4 separate regions of the Homo sapiens genome follow, and regions 1, 3 and 4 are each linked to region 2. The links are contacts of gene promoters, found by promoter capture Hi-C in blood cells and fetal thymus (Javierre and others, 2016). All regions are on one chromosome and are shown on one strand. Each heading gives the region's core, a stretch centred on a gene start or on the middle of the fragment in contact. The rest is flanking DNA. Distances are from core to core; before and after follow the strand shown.

The links. Contacts are between HindIII fragments. The CHiCAGO score rates a contact against its expected background, and 5 or more counts as called.
Region 1: a fragment that was not itself captured here is called in contact with the fragment with the promoter of DELE1 in region 2 in 1 of 17 cell types (endothelial precursors); the score reaches 6.5 in endothelial precursors.
Region 3: a contact is called between a fragment that was not itself captured here and the fragment with the promoter of DELE1 in region 2, in 8 of 17 cell types (erythroblasts, naive CD4 T cells, total CD8 T cells and 5 more). The highest score is 6.8, in erythroblasts.
Region 4: a contact is called between a fragment that was not itself captured here and the fragment with the promoter of DELE1 in region 2, in 1 of 17 cell types (endothelial precursors). The highest score is 6.5, in endothelial precursors.

Annotation. Positions count from the first base shown.
Region 1 is chr5:141,718,922-141,722,114 of GRCh38, forward strand. It overlaps LOC124901092 (a long non-coding RNA gene), which reads right to left and starts at 1,887. Exons shown (of 2, transcript XR_007058973.1): 1 at 1-1,887. The HindIII fragment of the contact is 2,207 bases long and covers 199-2,405 here.
Region 2 is chr5:141,922,077-141,925,337 of GRCh38, forward strand. It overlaps DELE1 (DAP3 binding cell death enhancer 1), which reads left to right and starts at 1,795. Exons shown (of 12, transcript NM_014773.5): 1 at 1,795-1,896; 2 at 2,505-2,619. The coding sequence starts at 1,866. RefSeq lists an enhancer at 1,676-2,189. The HindIII fragment of the contact is 14,517 bases long and covers 1-3,261 here.
Region 3 is chr5:141,675,716-141,678,965 of GRCh38, forward strand. The region is part of intron 4 of ARAP3 (ArfGAP with RhoGAP domain, ankyrin repeat and PH domain 3); the gene reads right to left. Among named protein-coding and RNA genes, the nearest start is that of ARAP3, 4.9 kb to the right of the region's middle. The HindIII fragment of the contact is 9,046 bases long and covers 1-3,250 here.
Region 4 is chr5:141,740,985-141,744,057 of GRCh38, forward strand. No RefSeq gene overlaps it. Among named protein-coding and RNA genes, the nearest start is that of ARAP3, 60 kb to the left of the region's middle. RefSeq lists a silencer at 2,418-2,712. The HindIII fragment of the contact is 850 bases long and covers 982-1,831 here.

The DNA.
Region 1 (3,193 bases), core at 52-2,551, 200 kb before region 2:
CCAGGCAGCCAGAGTCTGTCTGGGAACTGCCCTGGCTGGTGGGGACACACAATACCTGCAGCCCTCGCAGGGCAGCTGCAATGTGGTGAGGATGTGTTTCTCCTCCCCAGAAAAGGCTGGGTGAGAAAGTAGGGCCTTTAGCTTGCACAGTGGAGAGCATCCTTGCTCTGGGAGGGCCTCTCTGATCACTGAAAAAGAAGCTTGAAGTTTGCCTTGCAGTTGATTGTATTAGCATTTCAGAAGAATCCCCCTTCCTGGGAAGTGTATTAACGATTCACTCTGGCTGGTCTCTCACCCGGGGCAGCCTCTTCGTGAAGTGCCACAGATTTCCTAGAAATCCTCTGAGACATTTTGACATTCTGATTGTCACTGCCAATGTGGGCTGCGAAGGAATTAATTGACACAGATGAAACCCTCAATTTCCAAGGGCTGTGTAATAAAATAAAGGTTATTGTATGATTGCAGATTCCACCACTAATGAAAAAGGGCTAAAGACCATAATGACCATATGGCATGCTTAGTGAGTGGGGACTCACTTTGATTTTCACAGGCAACCATTCTGAACTTTAGGGAATATTAAGGGTGATAGTTATTATTTATCGAGAATTTATGATATGTTAGGTACTTTACTAAATGATCTATCTATATATTATGTATTCCAACTCTATGAATGAGATGTTATTTTCATCTCCATTTTACGGGTGAATAAACTGAGGCAGGGAGAGGTACAGTAAACATGGCTAGTAAGTTGGAGAGTAGAAATAGACAACCTTATGGCTGAAAGATATTCTATTTTCTTGAGGATGAAGGATGATTGAAATACCTGGGCAGGCAGGGTTAAGATATGGCTAAGCATAAGGAATTCTGGCTGGTAGAGTATTATAAGTGTCTGTACACACTTTCTAGACACTGAGAGAACACCACTGCCTTTTCTCTGAGACCACAGGAATCCCATCCATCCATCTACCCATTCATCCAAACAAAAGAGATTCACCCATTCATCATCCACCCACCCATAGATCCATTAATCTGCCCATCAATCCACTCATCAATTTATCTATCGTCCACCCATCCATTCATGCATCCATTCAGTTAGTCATATATTCATGTATTCACTTATTTATTCAACTCAGGGATGTCTCTGACTACCCCTCCCCAGCTTCTGTCATGGAGGTAGGTGCCCCCCTTTCCTATAAGTGCCTGCTATGACAGATGTAGCAGGTGGAGGAAAAGCAGCAGAAGAACAAGGTGCTGGGAGATACAGTACCACCTCCATAATTTGTAAAGAGTTCCTTTAACTTTCTCATCCCCAGTCTCCATATATGTAAAATGGGAATAATATTTGCAGGCTGTTGTGAATTTAAAGCAAGCAAATGTGTGATATGTTTTGGAAATATGAAAGTTCTGCATAAATTTATGTCTGTATCATCATTATCATCACTAGTGCAGTATGTACTCAAATCTATGACTCTCTTAAGTTTGAGAAGTCAGCATCTGTAAAATGAACCATTTCTGATTTTGTTTTAAAGAAATTCTTTAAAATTTATAAACATGAAATTCAGTAAAATAAAATTACTTTAAATCATGCAATTGTGCAGTTTTATAATAATCAGATCTATTTATTCCACATTCTCTTGAGGCTACAGGAAGTTTTGGAGATTAGGAGTTGGAAAGGGACTTGGTAAAAAGGGATACTTGATCATGAAACATCAGTCCTGTAATTCCTGGCTTAAGGGATAGCGCTCTCCAGAATAATATTACATATCAGGAAGACTGTTTAAGGCTTATTTCTTGTTGGTTATAAGAATAGGTGAGGGAAGGCCGGGCGCAGTGGCTCAGGCCTGTAATCCCAGCACTTTGGGAGGCCGAGGTGGGTGGATCACAAGGTCAGGAGATCGAGACCATCCTGGAGAACACGGTGAAAGCCCGTCTCTACTAAAAATACAAAAAAATTAGCTGGGTGTGGTGGCAGGCGCCTGTAGTCCCAGCTACTCGGGAGGCTGAGGCAGGAGAATGGCGTGAACCCAGACGGCAGAGCTTGCAGTGAGCAGACATTGCGCCACTGCACTCCAGCCTGGGTGACAGAGCGAGACTCCATCTCAAAAAAAAAAAAAAAAAAGGAATAGGTGAGGGAAGACTGTAAGGAAATATGTGCCTGAAAATCCAGGAAAAGATGAATAATCAGGCTACAAGATGAGCAGGAACTGCTGTAAATATAGGCTGTGTATCAGTCAGTGTGGGTTACATTATGTTGCAGTAACAAACAGTCCCCAAATCCCTGAGGCCTATGACAAATGTTTATTTCTCCCCTATATTACATATCTGTCATGGGTCAGCTGCAGCTCTGCTCCCCTGCTTTCTTCACTCTGGAGCCCAGGCCAATAGAGGAGCACACTGATTCTTAAAGCTTTCCCTCATATTTTATTGGCCAAAGCAAATCGCATGGCAGGCCTCTCATCAATGGGAAGTATGTTCCACTTTCAGAAAGGGCACCCAAGGGAGGAACAGCAAATATTTTGACCAATAACACAACTTTCCATACACATTGTAACTGAACTAGGTTATTTGAACCTCGGAGTGGCTTAGAGGAAGGACCTTTGGAGGAAGAGGTGGTAGCTCAAGTAATTTAGCTTCTCTCTGTGTCTGCCTCTTCTCCTCTCACCACCCATTTTCTATGTATTGTGGCTTTTGCTTTTGTGTCCCTCTTTTTTTTTTTTTTTTTTTTTTTCTGAGGTGAAGTCTTACTCTGTTGTCCAGGCTGGGGTGCAGTGGTGTGATCTTAGCTCACTGCAATCTCTGCCTCCTGTGCTCAAATTCTCCTCCCTCCTCACCCTCCTGAGTAGCTGGGACTACAGGAATGTGCCATCACACCCAACTAATTTCTTTCTTTTTTTTTTGGAGACTAGAGACTTACTCTGTCACCTAGGCTGGAGTGCAATGGCGTGATCTCGGCTCACTGCAACGTCTGCCTTCCATGTTCAAGTGATTCTCCTGCCTCAGTTTCCCAAGTAGCTGGGATTACAGGTGTGAGCTACCGCACCCGGCTAATTTTTTGTATTTTTGGTAGAGATGGGGTTTTGCCATGTTGGCCAGTCTGGTGTCGAACTCCTGGCCTCAAGTGATCTGCCTGCCCTGGCCTCCCAAAGTGCTGGGATTACAGGCATGAACTGCCACACCTGGCCTGCTTTTCCAT
Region 2 (3,261 bases), core at 545-3,044:
CACAACAATTGCATGAGGTATTTTCCCTATTTTACGGATGAAGCTCTTGAGACTTAGTGTGGTTAAGGAACCTGCACAAGATAACATACCTACGAAGTAAGCAAGCTGTGATTCCAACCCAGATTTGTGGGACTCCAAAGCCCACTACTAATCCACTGGACCGTGTTCCTGGAGGCCACAAATGCTCTTTCCTCAGCTGTCTTCTCAGATCCTAGAACGGGCTGATATATGGCTCAAAAGTTCTTTAACGGCCAGGCACGGTGGCTCAAGCCTGTAATCCCAGCACTTTGGAAGGCCAAGGCAGGAGGATCACCTGAGGTCCAGGAGTTCGAGACCAACCTGGCCAACATGGTGAAACCCTGTCTCTACTAAAAATACAAAAATTAGCAGGATGTGGTAGCAGGCGCCTGTAATCTCAGCTACTTGGGAGGCTGAGGCAAGAGAATCGCTTGAACCTGGGAGGCAGAGGTTGCAGTGAGCCGAGATCACACCATTGCACTCCAGCCTGGGCGACAGAGAATCCGTCTCAAAAGAAAAAAAAAAGTTGTCTAACATATTAATACAACTTTCAAGCCACATGCCTCGGTCTAAAAGTAGGTGCCCCCAGTACACTTTTACCCCAGGTAGCAACTTCCACTCACCTTAAAGTCACATACCTGGAGGAAGGGGATAGGGAGGAAATCTAAACATCTTATACTTGAATGTAAGCTCCGTTATTTCACGGATTCAAATGTGGTGAAAGGAACTATTTTTTTTTCCTTTTTTTTTTGAGATGGAGTCTCACTCTGTCGCCCAGGCGCGATCTCGGCTCACTGCAACCTCCCGTCTCCCGTGTTCAAGCAATTCTCCTGCCTCAGCCTCCAGAGTAGCTAGGATTACAGGCGCCCACCACCACGCGCAACTGATTTTTGTATTTTTAGTAGAGACAGGGTTTCACCATGTTGGCCAGGCTGGTCTCAAACTCCTGACCTCAGGTGATCCGCCCGCCTCGGCCTCCCAGAGTGCTGGGATTACAGGCGTGAGCCACCGGGACCAGACGGAACTATTCTTTTCCACAAAAGAACAAACACATACATAACTTTTGCCACGTCTGAAGACGAGGGTTCTAATAGGGCGCGGGTGGTGTCTCAGGTATTTTGAAAGGAGCTACCCAAGAATCTCAGCTTGTCAGGCCAGTCATTCCATTTGACCCTATCTGGCGCGTATTGGGGCCCCGACAAGGTAAGGGGTTGGCATGAAGCTGCACAGTGAGATAAAGCTGGACCGGAGCTAGAACCCAGAATCAAAGCCTTGCCCTGTGCGGTTTCTCATCGCCTACGCAGTCGGGCCCTGGCCTGGCATCTCCAGGCAGGTGGCCTTGGACGGAAGCCCGGCCTACTGGCTTCATTTGTGGGACCCCGGGGGTCCTCTCCTCCGCCCATGGAGCCTGGTTACTCCCACTTCCTCAAGCCTAGGGCCTGGAGAAGCCTTTCCTGGTTCGCGGCCTCACGGTCTGCAAGGTCCTCTTACTTCCCTGAAGCCGCTCCAGCCCCACTTCCCGAAGGTCCCGCTTCCGGGTGGCTCGCTTCGCCACCTGCGGTCCCCTGCCTCGGCTTGGGAACGCCAAGGACATCCCCCACGGAAGCCTGGGCCCACATCCCCATGCCCTTGCCGCACGTCACCGCCCCGCTGGCCCCGAATACGCCTCCGCCCTGCACTTCCTCTCTGCAGCGCCGTCTTTCCGGCCGGGCTCCCTTCTAATTGGCCAGCTCAGAGCTTCCTCGGGTACTCGGCCACTCGGGGCATCGCGGCGGCCTTTCTAGCCGCTGTCCCAAGGGTTGGTCTCGCGCTTTCGGCTGCGAGCTCTCTGTGGTGCTGGCAGCGACATGTGGCGCCTCCCGGGACTCCTGGGCCGAGGTAAGGGACGTCCAAGCAACCAGCGTCACTCTGGGCCGCAAAGACCGAACTGGAGTGGGGGCGGGCCCGAGGAAACAGCCGAAGCGATCGTGGGCCGGGTTAGAGCCAAGGAAGGCGGGGCTTGAAAGAGGGCGGGGAAGTCAGGGGCTGCTGGAATTTGAGATGTGGATGGGCCTAGCTAGAAGAGGGTGGAGTCCAAGAAGTTGGTAGGACTGTTGGGAGGGGGAGGAGTCCAATGGCAGGAGATGGTGGACTGAATGAATGAAAGAGGATTAGGGGCCAATGGAGTAGGCATAGCCAGTGAAGAGAGGAGAGGTTTAGAGTCAAAGAGCCCCAAACATTAGTGAGAGTATATGTATGAACGTTTGGTCATCTTAGAACAGTGGTTGGCATCCACAGGAGACCAGCAGAATCACATGGGCGCTTTTAAAAAACGTGGATGCTCTACCCTGAGAAATCTTAGTTTATTGGTTCTGGGGTACTACCCTAGAATCTGTAGTAGATAAAAGATTCCCATGTGTATCCATGTTTAAGAACCTCTGCTGAGGCAGATGACAGTGATTCCTGGGTTCTTGTTGAGGTGCCTGAGTTTTGGTTGTTCTGTACAGCTCTTCCCCGTACACTGGGACCTAGCCTCTGGAGGGTGACTCCTAAGTCCACCAGCCCAGATGGGCCTCAGACTACCTCCTCCACTTTGCTGGTTCCTGTGCCTAACCTCGACAGGTAAGATACTGCCATTTTACCACTCATTTCCTCCCCTAGTCACCCTTTTTTTTTATTTTTTTTTTTTTGTTGTTTTTTGAGATGGAGTCTCATTCTGTCGCCCAGGCTGGAGTGCAGTGGGGCAATCTCAGCTCACTGCAACCTCCGCCTCCCAGGTTCAAGCAGTTCTCTGCCTCAGCCTCCCGAGTAGCTGGGATTACAGGCACCCGTCACCACACCCTGCTAATTTTTATTTTATTTTATTTTTTTTGAGACAGAGTCTCGCTCTGTCGCCCAGGCTGGAGTGCAGTGGCGCGATCTTGGCTCACTGAAACCTCCGCCTCCTGGGTTCAAGCGATTCTGCTGCCTCAGCCTCCCAAGTAGCTGGGATTTCAGGCATGCACCATCACGCCTGGCTAATTTTTTTTGTATTTTTAGTAGAGACGGGGTTTCACCATGTTAGCCAGGATGGTCTTGATCTCCTGATCTCATGATCTGCCCGCCTCAGCCTCCCAAAGTGCTGGGATTACAGTGTGAGCCACTGTACCCAGCCAATTTTTATATTTTTAGTAGAGATGGGGTTTCACCATCTTGACCAGGCTGGTCTTGAACTCCTGACCTCGTGATCCACCCACCTCAGCCTCCCAAATTGTTGGGATTACA
Region 3 (3,250 bases), core at 141-2,640, 250 kb before region 2:
CTGTCACAAAAAAAAAAAAATTTCCCCAGCCTATGATACAGCTAATGTTGAAAACTGCTACTGCAGCCTCTGTTTCCTACTTCACTGAGAAATTGAAGTAATCAGATAAGAACCCCCACAGACTCCCAGTGCCATGTTTACCCAATTTCACGCACATATTCTGCCTTCCTCCTGTGACTATAATAAACACTCGTGTCTAAAGCCAGACCCTCCTCTGTGCCCTTAATCCTATTCCTCTCACCTACACAATCACTTAGACATCCCTCACTCTCCTCTCCCCTACATAACTGTCCCTCCCTACCAGATCATTCCTATTCACCTACAAACCTATATAACATTGCATCCAATAAAAAACTCTTGTTGGACAGGTACGGTGGCTCACGCCTGTAATCCCAGCACTTTGGCAGGCGGATCACGAGGTCAAGAGGTCGAGACCATCCTGGCCAACATGGTGAAACCCCGTCTCTACTAAAAGTACAAAAATTAGCTGGGTGTGGTGAAGCGCACCTGTGGTCCCAGCTACTTGGGAGGCTGAGGCAGGAGAATCACTTGAACCCAGGAGGCAGAGGTTGCAATGAGCCGAGATCACACCACTGCACTCCAGCTTGGGTGACAGAGCAAGACTCCGTCTCAAAAACAACAAAAAAACTCTTTTCTTGACTCAGCTTCCTCTAGCAACAATAGTTCCAACTCTCTGCTCTTCTTTGCAGAAAAATTCCTCAAAAGACACTGTCTGTACTTTTCTATTCTCCCTTAAAACCCACTCTCATCGAGCTTTCACCCCATCACTCTGAGACTGTACTTGTCAAGATCCCCAGTGACCTCCAATTCCAAGGGTGAATTCTAAGTCCTATCATACTCAGCAGCAGACCCCTCAGCAGCGTAGGACACAGCTGGCCTCTCCCTTCTTCTTCTACATTTTCCTCACTTTGCTCCTATGACATCACATTCTCCTGGCCTTCTACTTTGCTATTTCTCTTCTGTCCGTTTTGCAGATTCTTCCGCTTCTCCCAAACCTCTAGATATGGGAGTGCACAAGGGCTTTGATCTTGGTCCTCTTCTCTATCTGCACTCACTCACAGCTCTATGCACCCATCTAAGTGCTGACAACTCTCAAGTTTAGGTCTCCAGCTCCGACCTCTCTCTAGACTCTAAGCTCGTCTACCCAGTGGTCTATTTTCACCTCTTCTTGGAGGCATAACTTACACCTCAAATTCAACACATCCAGAACTGCACTCCTAATCTACCCTCTCCTCCCAGCTGCCTGAACACAGTCTTCCCCATCTCAGACCGTGGCGGCTCCAGGAACTTTCAGGTGCTCAGGACAGTGCTATCCAGCAGAAGTTAATGCGAACCAAGTATGTAATTTTAAACTTTTCAGTAGCCACGTTTAAAAAAATTAAAAGAAACAGGTGAAATTAATTTTAATAATATATTTTATTTAACCCAATATATCCTAAACATTAACATTTTAGTATGTAATCAACATAAAAATTACTATTTTTTACTACATAAAAATTCTGTAATCAACATAAAAATATAAACATAAGATAATTTATGTTTATATTTGTTATATTCATCCAGTATTGCTTTTTCTCATATTAAGTCTTTGAAATCTAGCAGGTGTTTTACATTTATTGTGCATCTCAAAGGATACTAGCCGCATTTCATAGGCCCAGTAGTCACATGTGGCTAATGGCTACCATACTGGTCAGCACCAGCTCAGATGGAAGCCCTCAAAGTCATTCTTGACTGCTCTTTTTTTCTCACATCCCAAGTTAATCTGACAGTTTGCCTTCAAAATAAAGCCACTTCTCATCATCTCCACTACTATCACTACACTCTGAGGTCTCTCACCTACATTACTACAAAAACCTCCCCACTGGTCTCTCTGCTTCTCCTTTGGCCCCCTACAGACCACTCCCAACATAGCAACCAGGGGGATCCCTTTATAAAGTCAAAACCCCTCAATGGCTTCCCATTTCACTTAGAGTAAAAGCCAAAGTCCCTTATCTGGCCCCTTGTTTTTGTTTTTTTGGTTTTGTTTTGTTTTTTGTTTTTGTTTTTTTTGTTTTTGTTTTTGTTTTGAGACAGGGTCTCACTCGGTTGTCCAGGATGGAGGGCAGTGGCATGATCTTGACTTGCTGCAACCTCCGCCTCCCGGGTTCAAGTGATTCTCCTGCCTCAGCCTCCCTAGTAGCTGGGACTACAGGTGTGCGCCACCACCCCCAGCTATTTTTTTTTTTTTTTGAGACGGAGTCCTGCTTTGTTGCCCAGGCTGGAGTGCAGCGGCACAACCTTTGCTCACTGCAAGCTCCGCCTCCCGGGTTCACGCCATTCTCTGCCTCAGCCTCCTGAGTAGCTGGGACTACAGGCGCCCACCACCACGCCCGGCTATATTTTTTTTGTATTTTTAGTAGACACGAGGTTTCACCATGTTGACTAGGCTGCTCTCAAACTCCTGAACTCAGGTGGTCCGCCAACCTTGGCCTCCCAAAGTGCTGGGATTACAGGCATGAGCCACTGTGCCTGACCCTTATCTGGCCTCTTTTACCTCTCTGACTTCATCTCCTGCCATTCCTCCCACCGTGGCTCACCTGCCCCAGCCAAGATGGCCTGGCCTCCTCACTGCTCCTGGATCCCTTTGGGCACACACCCGCCTTGAGGCCTCTGTTCCAATCACTTGCCCTACCGGGGCACTCTTCCCCAGTTATCTTCATGGCTAACTCCTTCACCTCCTTCAAGTTTTTGATCAAATGTCATCTTCTTAACGCTCCGCTAACTGTAAATGAAAAATTGCAGTCCACCCATTTTGCCCCCAAGCCCTCTTTTTTTTTTTCTTAGTCACTGCTACCTCCACCTCTCCGGTTCAAGCAATTCTCCTTCCTCAGCCTCCTAACTAGCTGGGATTATAGGCGTCCACCACCGCACCTGGCTAATTTTTGTATTTTTAGTAGAGACGGAGTTTCATCCTGTTGGCCAGGCTGGTCTCAAACTCCTGACCTCAGGTGATCCGTCTGCCTCAGCCTCCCAAAGTGCTGGGATTACAGGTGTGAGCCACCATGCCCGGCCAACCCCCCAGCCCTCTTACTCTGCTCTATTTTTTCCATGGCACTTAATACCTTTTAACGTTCTATAGTATTTAATGTATTATGTTTATTGTTAATAGACTATCTCCCCACAAGGGCAGGGATTTCTGTGTACGCTGATCTATCCCAAGCATCTACATCCGGTGCATGATAGTTGCTCA
Region 4 (3,073 bases), core at 157-2,656, 180 kb before region 2:
TATGCTCCTGAGTTCGCTTGTGAACCAGGACTCTGGCTTGCTGAGTCACTTCCCTCAGTCACTCTCTGAGGGCCAAATGTGCACAGTCCATTGTAAGGAGAGCATTTAAATTAGCCATTCAGTGGGTGGCCCCTCCTCAAAGGTCAGTGGCCTATCTGGCCACCACAGCTGGCGGCCACAAAAGACCTGCCGAGAATCCTGCCGAGAATCCAATCTAATGGAGTGGTAAAGGCTCAAGCCACTCTTCCTGGGAGTGGGAGGGTGAGTTGCAAGGTGATTTTGCTGCTGTCACAGTCTCCCTTTAGACACGGCCTGTCCTCGAGGGCAAAAATAGCAGCTTTAGAGGCAGGAGAGTTTTGTGACATCATCCCCAGGTTCAGCCAGCAAACCTCACTCCAGCCAGTAGATCTTGTTTGCCCCTCGGAGATTTATGCCAAGGTCCTAAGGGACAACTTTGGTGGCCCTGGGGCTCCTTCCAGCCCCCTGGCCCCAGTTCTGGACCCTGCCTATGAACCAGAGTCCCCAGCTCCACCCCACTGTTTACACACCAGGTGAAGAGGAGCACACTCACTAGTGCACTGTGGCTGGACTCGTGTCTACCTCCATCTCTCCAGGGCTGAGTGCTATAGGCCTGCAGGGCCCGCAGGGCCTGCAGCCTCTCTGGGCTAGGAGCACACAGGCTGAGCTGAAGATGCTGAGGATGGCACCTAGCCTGGAGGCTGAACTGAGGGGAAGACATTCTGCAGTCTCTGGGAGGTGGGAGGGAGGGAGGGTGGTTTGCAGAGAGAATAAAGGAGTTTATGCACAACTCTGGGTGTATGTGTGTATTTGCATGTGTGTGTGCCTGTCCTGCAGCAGAAGATGGCAGGCAGGAATGGGGACTCCACAGCCTCCACTGATTAGAAAGGTTTTGAAATTGATAAATTACTTTGTATTGGGGCAAAATGATTTGACCAGGTTTCAAATGTCTCAGAGAAGGGAAGCTTCTCTTGGGCCAAGTATTGATTGCATTTAATAGAGCTGGGACTTTCTCACTTAAAAACAACAAAATAAACATCTAAGAGAAGGCACCAAAACACATATGCTCTCTCTCTCTCTCTCTGTCTTTCCTTCCTTCTTTCCCTTCTCTCTAAGGACAGGTAGGGATCCAGAGACCCACTCAAGTCTGGGGTGGGGGCAGGGGCAGTGCCGATGTCAGAGCCATGGAGTTCCTTTGGGGCAGATTGATGGTGGGGGCTCAGGAGAACAGGGAGCCTTGGGTTGGTCCCATTCTTCACAGATTGATTTTGCCAAACAGCAACTGTCAGAGCCTTTGATAAATCACTAACCCAGTGATGAATGCCCTGAGGCTGGGTGGGGTGGGGGGAAGGATGCTGGTCTGGGAGGCAGCCCAGGGAGGGAGAGGGGCAAGGATGGAGGGCTGAGGGCAGCAGGAGCCAGCTAAGGAAAAGTGAGTCCTAGAAATCCTGTGAGATACCCCTGGCTAGCTTACCCTGGACTCATCTCTCAACAGGACTTGACCATAATTATTGACTCAACAGTGCTTCAAATTTCATTTTCAGTCTGTCTCTTGTCTGTCTCTTGCTGTCTGTCTCGCTGTCTGCCTCTTTATCTGGCTTCCAAATGGACTCTGACGGTTTCCTCCCAAGAGATGATTCCTTTGGACCTCTTGGAAAGTGGAAAAGAATGTGGGGAAGGCTGGAAGCAAGTAGGGCCTTGGCAGTGGGAAGTGGGAGGGGAGGGGCGAGGTGACCTCCTGGAATGGAGGGATGAGGCCCAGCAGGGACCTGGACCAGCGGGGCGAGGGAGGGGCTGAGAGAAGGCAGATGCAAGCTTGCAGAGCAGACCTTGCCAGAAAGAAGCCAGTTTTTAGGAAGTCTTATTCTTTATGGAAGGAAAAGTTATGCCATGGGATTCTCTTATCCATCGAAGTAGTGAGAACAGAGACCTGCCCCAACTGAGCTCCCTGAGGAATAAGGGCAGAGGGGGAGAGGGACCAACCCAGAATCACAGAACTGATCTCTCCTCATGGCCAGAGCCTGCCTTGGAGGCAGCCCAGTTCATAGACCACAAGTTTGAGTCATCCCTGAGTGACCTTGCACGTGTGACTTAGCCTCACTCACCATCTGGTTCCTCATCTATAAAATGGATGTTAGAATAGAGTTACATGAAGTTTATATTAATTAAGATCGTGTGTATAAAGTGCTGAGCAGAGGGCCTGGCCCATAGCAAGCACTCAGTAAATATTAGCTGGGAACATTAATGTTCTCCCTGGTAGCAGCATGGCAGATTCTGAAGTCACAAAAACTCCTCGCTCATCCTGAGAGTAGAGAACTCTACCCAAGTTACTGATCTACAGGCCAAGCCACGTCGATCTTCTGTCCCCACTGTCAGTGCTTATGCACCCTGGGCAGAGGCCTACACTGCCTTTTCGGTAAAGGCAGCTGGCCCCTAGCCCTCCGGATGCCTGCTGGCCGCCGGCAGGTGTCTGCTGGCCCCGCGGTGCCTGCAAACGTGAGTGGGACTTGGTGCTGCTTTACCCATTGCACACAAGGCCGCTCCCAGGCTCCCTCAGCCCTTGGCCCTGTCCATGGTGCTAACCCACATCCCAGCCCAAGCGGAATTTCTGACTTCAACCCCTCTTGCCCCCCAACTTTAACATCTCTGAAGATCCCCTCCATCACCAGGAATGAATTCTGAGCTCACGTTCTGGAATGCTGCCAGGAAGAAGGAAGTGGTGTTAGTATAAAGAATCACACAAAAGGCCGCAGGTAATTATGTCTCTTTTAAGCCGCTAACAGGATTGGCCATTTGATAAATGGGAGGATTTGAGGCTGTTTTGTCACTGACAAGCTGTTGTAAGATCATATTGGAAGTTGAAGACAGTTTATCTTCATGTGTGTGGTGGAGAGAGGGGAATTCTCCGTGGATTTTACACCCTCTTTAAATTAATGTGATTTCCTAGGCTGGTCCTGTGCACGGGAGTGAGTGATCTTTATGACTCACCCCCTGATTAGATTACCTGGCTCAGTAGCCACCTCCAGCCCCTCTGAGTGCCCTCACCCTCCCAGGC